Regions from separate parts of the Homo sapiens genome. Here region 1 is linked to region 2. Evidence: promoter capture Hi-C in human tissues and cell types (Jung and others, 2019). All regions are on one chromosome and are shown on one strand. Each heading gives the region's core, a stretch centred on a gene start or on the middle of the fragment in contact. The rest is flanking DNA. Distances are from core to core; before and after follow the strand shown. Region 1 overlaps HDAC5 (histone deacetylase 5). Region 2 holds the start of PPY (pancreatic polypeptide).

What was found. Contacts are between HindIII fragments. The study calls those that stand out against the background at their distance.
Region 1: a fragment that was not itself captured here is called in contact with the fragment with the promoter of PPY in region 2 in 2 of the 25 tissues and cell types used here (mesenchymal stem cells and spleen).

Annotation. Positions count from the first base shown.
Region 1 is chr17:44,107,101-44,111,297 of GRCh38, reverse strand. It overlaps HDAC5 (histone deacetylase 5), which reads left to right. Exons shown (of 27, transcript NM_005474.5): 3 at 498-569. Among named protein-coding and RNA genes, the nearest start is that of HDAC5, 14 kb to the left of the region's middle. The HindIII fragment of the contact is 4,562 bases long and covers 1-3,724 here.
Region 2 is chr17:43,940,577-43,945,197 of GRCh38, reverse strand. It overlaps PPY (pancreatic polypeptide), which reads left to right and starts at 2,722. Exons shown (of 4, transcript NM_002722.5): 1 at 2,722-2,777; 2 at 3,544-3,734; 3 at 3,984-4,055; 4 at 4,246-4,394. The coding sequence starts at 3,544. The coding sequence ends at 4,270. The HindIII fragment of the contact is 11,700 bases long and covers 1-4,621 here.

The DNA of each region.
Region 1 (4,197 bases), core at 194-2,693, 170 kb before region 2:
CTATTTATAGACAGGGCCCTCCCCCAACTGCTATTTCAGTCTCCTGCCAGCTGCCGGCGGCGGCTCATTCGGGAAGGAGGAGCAGGGAGCCGGGCCCAGAGCTGTCACCCAGGGTTGGGAGGGAACACAGAGCCCGCCTGCCCGCTGAGCTCCCCTTCCTGTCCCAAGTGCTCAGCCATACCCCAGCTCCCAGGAACCAGGGAGAGGCTGGTGGTCGGATGCCCCTCTAGAGCAGAGCTGGGCCTGCAGCTCTAGGGCCTCCCTGCCCCTCCTGCCGCCAGGAGTGCCCAGGCCGGATGAGGCACTTCCCTACAGTGTGGGTCCCGTCGGCAGTGGCCTGAGGGAACCTGTGCTGTGCGGGCTGCCCGACCACCTTCCCTTCGGTCTGCTCCCCGCCTCTGGCGGCCCCCTCCCTGGCATGCTGCTGGTGCCCAAGGCTCAGGGGCTCGTGGAGATGCTGCAGACCATCTATGAGACAGAATCCTGTTTCTCAGCAGATGGGATGTCAGGTCGGGAACCATCCTTGGAAATCCTGCCGCGGACTTCTCTGCACAGCATCCCTGTGACAGGTAAGTGCCTTGATGTCCCTGCCTGCCCTCTGTCATCTGGCATCCTTGTCCCTGGGCTGAGCATCTGGCCCTGAGCCTTGCACAGATAGGGTCCTGCATAGATCTGTCTTGAGAGTTTTGTTGAGAATACACAGGGCTGGGGGATCCCTGCTCAGAGAGGCCCCTGCCCTCCCTGCCCAGAGCCTGCTGCTCCCCGGTGCCCCTCCGCTGTACTCTGCTGCATCTCTTCCAGTCCCTTCAGTCTCTGGCAGGGTCGGCATCCACTGCTGGGGGCTGGGGGTTACTGGAGGATCCTGGCCTAGTTGGCACTGTGGTCAGAGGGGAGGAAGTGGGTCAGTGACCCGCCTCCATGCTGCCCGCTCCCCAAGTTTGGGCAAGGGAAGAAGGTGTAGCTGGGTGTCCACAAGAATAAAGGTTACTCCAGCTCCTCTGGCTTGGTTCTTGGGGCTACAGGATCGAGTACAGTGACTTCCGCAAGTCCCCAGCCAGGAGTCTCTTGAGAATCAGACACTTGGGGAGGCTTGGTGCAGTCATGATGGAGTTAGGCAGAGGCTGGCAGCTTGGATATTGAGGGGCTTGGCTGCCTTAGCCCCTAGCTGTCTCCCGATGGCGCTCCTCTCCCCAGGTCTGGGTTGATTCCCATCTCATGAGGATGAAGAGGTGTTACTCTGGCTCAGATGGGCTTCGGGACCCCCTAATCCTGCCACCTTCTCAGCAGGAACTTTTTTGGCTCTTGGCTAGGGGTGGGGTCCCCCAGAGCTGGGCCGCTCCTTCCCTCACTCCCAGGAACCTGTTGGCAGCATCAAGCCTTCCTGGCACAGCCTCCCCACCAGGCCGGCACCACAAGATGCTTCCTCCAGGGAGGGGCCTGCTGGACCCATGCCTGCTCAGCCCCTCCTGGCAGTGGCTTGGCACTCAAGTGTGGGTGTCTGTGTGTGTGCGTGTGAATGGGGAGTCCTTGCCTCTGGATATGTGGGTGTGCATCCCAAGCTTCAAATTGGAAAGTGGGAACTGTGTGCCTCTGCAGGTGCCTGTGATTTGGCTCTGAGCTGCCCAGGGATAAGGTTGCAGTGGGACTTGGATGTGTCAGAGCATGAATGTTTTGGGAAGATTCAAAAAATCTTTGGAACATGGCTTATCATCTGCCCAGGCAGGGATGCCCATGCAGTTTTCTCATGTAGGAGCATGACCCTGAAGACTAGCCCTGCAGGGTATCCATGCAGGCCCCGAGGATAGGGGCATTACCCTGGGGCCAGCCCTGTAGGCTGGGGTGGGGATGGGGGTGTAACCTTGGGAACCGGCTCTACAAGATACCCACGTAGTCCCCTGAGGTAGGGGCGTATGCCTGGGGGCCCCCTACACAGGTCCCTGGGATGAGGAATAAACCCAGAGGGCTGGTTCTTATCCTGGTCTGGAGTCCACAGGTCCAGCTAAAGACCCTGCCTGCTGGCCCCTAGCCCACAGCCTCTGGGACTCAAGGTGGTCTCTTGGAAGGCAGAATAATCCCAGAGCATCTGCTTGGGACAGCTCCACGCCATCTGGCTTATCAGGTCCACCCATCCTGCCCTGTCGCCTCTGTTCCTTGCTACCAGCAGCAGCCAGCAGTTGGCCGGAAGTTTCCTCCTCAGCTTGTTCATTCACCTGCTTCCAGATTGTACCCCAGAAACCTTGCAGGCTGGGACCCTGCTCTCTCATCTCCTCCCTAAGCCTGGCTGCCCCTGCATGGACTCCCAGGCAGCCCCTCTGTCCAGATCCCTGTCTCCCCACTCCACCCCCAACGCTGGCTGGCCTTCAGAGTGGTGGCTTGGTCCATGCTGGCAGGAGGGAGGCGTGAGTCACCTCAGCGGCTCGGGGAGAGGGCTAAGAATGTTCCCCCTGCGCAGCTCTGATGCTGTGTCTGTGACGCGGCTAGGGACAGATATAGGCCTGGAGCTCGGCAGCCTTGTTTTTTTTTTGTTTTTTTTTTGTTTTTTTTTTGGACTCTGGAATGTAAATAGATGTTTCAAATAGAAACACTTTAACCTTTGGGTTAAAAAAAATCCACCCCGGATAAACACGGCCATGAGGGCCCAGGCAGCCTGGTGTTTCCCTCCCCACCCCCTCTCCCCATCTCTTGATCGGTCTCCAGACAGGATGCAAGATCCTATGGCTGAAAAAGCAGGTGTCCAGGGAAGCTTCTTTGGATGGTGTGAGTTGCGCAGGTCTCCCAAGCCCAAGGGGTTGGGGCAAGGGTCTTTCGAGGGTGGTGCCTGCCTGCCACCTCCAGCAGCATCTTTAGAACCCTATTTTAGGGATAGCCTTTGCTCTCTGGGCTGTCTTGGTTGTTGCCATTGCCCAGCACCTAGCACAGTGCCTGGCACATGGATGAATGAATGTCGCATGGGGAGGGCTGGAGTCCAGAATTGCTGGCAGGATTCCTGGGCTCTATTCTGGGGCCTGGACCTCTGGGTGAATAGAGACAGCTTTAGTGAGTCACCCCAGCGGGTAAGACAGAGCCTTAGCCTACCGAAGGACAGGGGCAGTCTGCTGTTCTTGCTTAAAGAGTGGGGCGGATCTCAGCATCTGCTCTTAGCGATCAGAGGTCTTCCTTGATGGATGGGGTCTCTGCCTGGCCACCCTACCACAGCTCCCCAGTGCACAGTGGGCACCACCATCATCCCAGCTTAGTTCTGGCTTGGGGAGCCTGGGAGTTTGAACTCTAGTATGGGATTCTCAAGGACACAGAGGTGGGGAATTCTCTGCCTCCCTTATGTGGGCCCTGGATTCCCCTTTGTCTTGTACTGGGTGGAGCTGATGCCCAGACAATACGCAGGACTTTATGAGATGGCATGGAGGAGGAGTCTGCTTTTCCCATGGAGGGAGGGTGTGAATCCTGCTTGTGCCAGGAAGGAATGCTATGGACACTGGGAAGTGCCATGGGGTCCAGGTTTGGTCTTAGGGCTTTCCCTGGATATTCGTGTTCGTGCTCTTCAGTCTTTCTGGGTTTGGCTGTGTGTATAGGTATGTAGTGCCGGGAGGGTAAGAAGTGCAAGACTCAGGGGTGAGAGTGGAACTATTATAATGCACTGAGTGACAAGGCTATCAGGTACTTTCCCTGCCCTTTTTTTTTTTTTTTTTTTTTGATACGGAGTCTCCCTCTTTTGCCCAGGCTGGAGTACAGTGGCACGATCTTGGGTCACCACAGCCTCCACCTCCTGGGTTCAAGCGATTCTCCTGCCTCAGCCTCCCGAGTAGCTGGGACTACAGGCACACGCCACCGTGCCTGGCTAATTTTTGTATTTTTAGTAGAGATGGGTTTTCACTATGTTGGCCAAGCTGGTCTCGAACTCCTGACCTCGTGATCCGCCTGCCTCAGCCTCCCCACAGTGTTGGGATTGCAGGCGTGAGCCACCACGCCCGGCCCTTGCCATATCTGTTTTAGGACAGTGTTGATAGCTGTGGTGTATAATTGAGAAGGCTCAGAGAGGTTAAGGAACTTACTGGACATGGTAGCTCATACCTGTAATCCCAGCACTTTGGAAGCCTGAGGGAGGAAGATCACTTCAGGCCAGGAGTTTGAGACCAGCCTGCGCAGCATAGCCAGACCCTGTCTCTACAAAAAAATGTAAAAAAAAAAATTAATCAGGCA
Region 2 (4,621 bases), core at 1,473-3,972:
AGGCTTTGCATCCCCACCAAATCTCATCTTGAATTGTAATCCCCGTAGTCCTCATGCGAAGGGAGAGACCAGGTGGAGGTCATTGAATCATGGGGGCAGTTTTCCCCATGCTGTTCTCGTGATAGTGAGTGAGTCATCACGAGAGCTGATGATTTTATAAGTTGCTCTTCTCCCCTTTGATCAGCACTTCTCCTTCCTGCCGCCTTGTGAGAAAGGTGCCTTGTTTCCCCTACGCCTTCCACCATGATTTTAAGTTTCCTGAGGCCTCCCCAGCCATGCTGAACTGTGAGTCAATTAAACCTCTTTCCTTTATAAATGACCCAATTTCAGGTAGTTCTTTTTGTTTTTTGTGTGTTTTTTGAGATGGTGTCTCACTCTGTTACAGCCCAGGCTGGAGTGTAGCGGCACGATCTCGGTTCACTGCAACCTCTGCCTCCCTGGTTCAAGTGATTCTCCTGCCTCAGCCTCCCAAGTAGCTGGGATTACAGGCATGCGCTACCACGCCCGGCTAATTTTTGTATTTTTAGTAGTGATGGGGTTTCACCATGTTGGCCAGGCTGGTCTTGAACTCCTGACCTCAGGTGATCCGCCTGCCTCAGCCTCCCAAAGTGCTGGGATTACAGGCGTGAGCCACTGCGCCTGGCCTCGGGCAGTTCTTTTCAAAGCAGTATGAGAAGGAACTAATACACATGGCCATGCAGTGTAGAAAGCACATCTACTACCACTTCCTCCTGGATTGTCACCACATCCCTGAGAGGACCCAGAAGAGGAATCTGTTGTTTGCAAAGGAGAAAAATGAAAGCTACGGTTTGGTTGACATTTGTGGAGTGCCTGTTATTTCTTAGGCACTTAGGTTTACCTCTGCGACAGGATAGAACTGTAAGTGGCCCTGGCATCTGAGTCAATCCCTAGATCCATTGTCTGTTGGGTGGGGCTGGGTCCCCACATGAGTAGCAGCCAGAACAGGTCCCTCCAAGGCCATGGTCCTGTGGGAGCTCAGATCCTTTTAACTAGGGTTGGAGCCTGGCGCCCTCTGGCGGCGAGCTGCAACCTCTACCCGCCAAACCCAAGGCCAGGCTGAGACCAGCCACCAATTCACACCCTTGTTTTGCAAGTGGAAAACCTCAGTCCAGAGAAAGGCCCGGGCTTGCTGAGACAGAATGACTTTCGTATTTGCTTTGTGGAATGTAAGTTGTCTGGTGAAGCATTATTGCTCTTCTTGTTAACCAAAATCAAAATTGAGAGGGTCAAGGCAGAACACTGATGTTTGCTGAGCCTTCCTTTATTCTCCCTATCTTCAGATGGGTGTGATGAGCCTATTTTACTGAGAGGAAAAGTGAAGCTCAGAGAGGCTAAAGAAATTACTTTCCCAGGCTCACAGAGCCAGCCAATGCAGAGCCAGGATTTGGACCCAGGTCTGTCTGACTCTAAGCCCACCCTGCCAGATCCCTGGAGTTTCACCTCCAGTCCCCTCTTCCCCAACAGTCCCCCCCATCTCCCAACTTCTTGGTATACTGATCTGGGACAGCAGAACGTCAGCAGTCATAAGTCCTTAGCTCCGTACTTGGTGTCACCGTGTCATTCAGACACAGCCAGTTACCACTCCTTGGCCTAAGCAGGGGAGGGAGACTGGGGGTTGGGAAGAGACGCTGGGCAGGGGAGACTCAGGGGCTTCTGGTGGGGATGGATTAGTGGGGTTGAGAATCTAAGCCAGAATTCGGAACCTCGGTAGCTATGAGATCTTGAGCAAGCGTCTTTACCTCTGTGAGCCTCAGGTTTCTCAGCCAAAAAGTGGGAAATTATAACAATACTTTGACGGCCCCACTTAGGAAAAAAAACAGTCCAGGTTTGGAGTTAAATTTTGGGGTCTGACTGGCTGTGGGGTTTGGGGCCAGTGATTTGACATCTCTGAGCAGATTTCAGATCCTGAATCTGTAAAATGGGTTGTTGTGGGGATTTAGTGAGGTGACTGAGCTGGCAGCACTTTGGAAAATGTGAGGCTTTACAAATGAAGCTGGTTTTTAGCACTTCCCTGGAATGGGGGCTCTGAGATGGGGAGGGAAATGGATACTGGAAACCGGCACCCCCCTCAACATTTCCCCTGAACCCAGGCACATGAGTTCTCATTCTGCATCCTATGCACCCACCAAATGGGTTTCTCCAAGCCTGGCACCCCACTCCTTTCCACCTTGCCTGAGGACCTGAGGCCCCTTCCCTCTTCCCACCTTGTTCTAGTTGCAAGCTGCAGAGGATGGCCTGAGTTTCCATTCTTCAGCCTGGAGGCTCTGGCTGTAGCCTCAGTCTTCCAGCTGCAGCCTCAATCTTCTGCCCCAAGAGAATCCGTTGGATGATTTGGGTTGATCTTTGGGAGGCAGGAGAGCTAGTTCCAAGGCCTGTGACCAAAACCTTTCAGTCACTCTCGAGTCCCAGAACCCCATCTTTCTTGAACCAAGCCTGCTCTGGTGCCCAAAGGGAAGGGGTGTCAGTGATGGGGGCCCACAGGAGACTTTTACTGTGGTCCAGTTTTATCTGTTATGCTGCTGGTCTGGCACCCACAGAACTGCCCTGTCCCCCTCCCGTCTCTGGCCTCAGTACTGGCGTTGCCAGTATGAGGAGACAGTGAGAGGAGGGGTGAGGGCTTCGGAGTGAGAGAGGCTGACAGGAGGCGGGGACTCTGGGGGGCTGAGGACTATAAAGCGGCCCAGCCGAGGGCAGGGGCCCATCCGGCCTGAGGCAGGTGCTCGCTTGGTCTAGTGCCCATTTACTCTGGACTCCGGGTAAGTGGGCTCAGCCTGCCTGGGGCTCTGGGGGCCTCCCCCAGGCTGGGGCCTGGGATGGAGAGGAGGTGGTGCTTTGCAGGGCCAGGGGCCTTGGGAGGCCTAAGGTCCTGCTTGGGTCTTGCTTTCTGCATCTGGACAGACCTGTCACGCTAGAAGAGCCGTCTGCTGACTGCACGTGTGTGTGCACACTCGTGTGCATGGCTGTGAACTGGAATGTGTGACTGTGACCTTGTGAGTGACTGGGGTCCCTGTGTGAGTGCCTTTGCTGGTCTGTGCAGGACGACATGGACAGTAGCGTCTTCTCCAGGACCGATATCTGTGTCTCTATCGCAGGGTGGAGGGCCAGACCCACAAGGCCATGGATTTCTGTCCTTGGCTTCCCGAGTTCATTCTGTGTCCCCCACCCTGTGGGTGACCTGGCATGCCCTTATTCCCACTAGCTGCTGCCTCCTGGGAGCCATGAGGCCCTGGATGTCATGAGTCCCGTGTCTCCAGGACTCACATCCCCATTTTCTCTGCTATACTTTTCTAACTTGCGAGGCCCTGGCTTGCTGGGCTGCTCACAGGACAGGCTGTCCGTGCCTTCAGAGCAGTGTCTAGGAGGTGGAGTGGCCAGCTTGGAGTGGCCCTTTGCTCTGCCCCCTTGTCCCCAGGCTTGGAGAAATGGATGATGGGCTAAGGGGCTGGATAGTTGGGCCCTGCTTCCTGGGCACGGGAAAATCTGCAGCCCGGGCTCTCCACCTCCCCTCTGCTTGCTCCTCAGATGGCTGCCGCACGCCTCTGCCTCTCCCTGCTGCTCCTGTCCACCTGCGTGGCTCTGTTACTACAGCCACTGCTGGGTGCCCAGGGAGCCCCACTGGAGCCAGTGTACCCAGGGGACAATGCCACACCAGAGCAGATGGCCCAGTATGCAGCTGATCTCCGTAGATACATCAACATGCTGACCAGGCCTAGGTGTGTGCCACAGTTGGGGAGAGAGATCCCAGCCCCTGGGACCCTGGGCCCACTCCACATTCCTGGCCACACCCTATCCCCAGCCCCAGCCCCAGCCCCTTCCAGGCCTGCTCTTGGGAAAACAGGGCATCTGTGCTCAACAGGCCTAGACCAATGTGCCCTGGGCAAGATGGTGCCTACAGGCAGATATGAAACAGGTGGGCTGGCACCTGGGCACAGTGCTTGCCCCTGCTGCCTCTTCCCTCCCAGGTATGGGAAAAGACACAAAGAGGACACGCTGGCCTTCTCGGAGTGGGGGTCCCCGCATGCTGCTGTCCCCAGGTGAGTTTGACTCCCTGCCCTGTCTGTCCAGCTCCCTGGAGCTGAAATGGGGGTGGTGGGACTGAATCAGGGCTTGGAAAGGTGTAGTGGGGGGTGGAAGAGGGAGAACAGGAGCCCAGGGCCAGCCTGAGGCCTCCTGAGGGCACGAGGCCTACCCCCTACACTGCCATGTTCTGCCCTGTCCTCACAGGGAGCTCAGCCCGCTGGACTTATAATGCCACCTTCTGTCTCCTACGACTCCATGAGCAGCGCCAGCCCAGCTCTCCCCTCTGCACCCTTGGCTCTGGCCAAAGCTTGCTCCCTGCTCCCACACAGGCTCAATAAAGCAAGTCAAAGCCACAGCCTGTCCTGTGTCTCTGTGGACCCCTGGTGGGGGCAGCAGGAAGTGCCAAATGCATGGGAGAGAAAGGGGAGGGCAGGGCAGGGCAGAGGAAAAGGGGATCATCCAGAACGTTGGCGGGGGTCATCAGAGTCACTCAACTCATCCTCTCCCCTTCGCAGAGGGAAAAGTGGTGGCCAGAGGAAGGCAGGGACTCCTCTGAGCAGATGGTCCTTCAGCAAGTCTG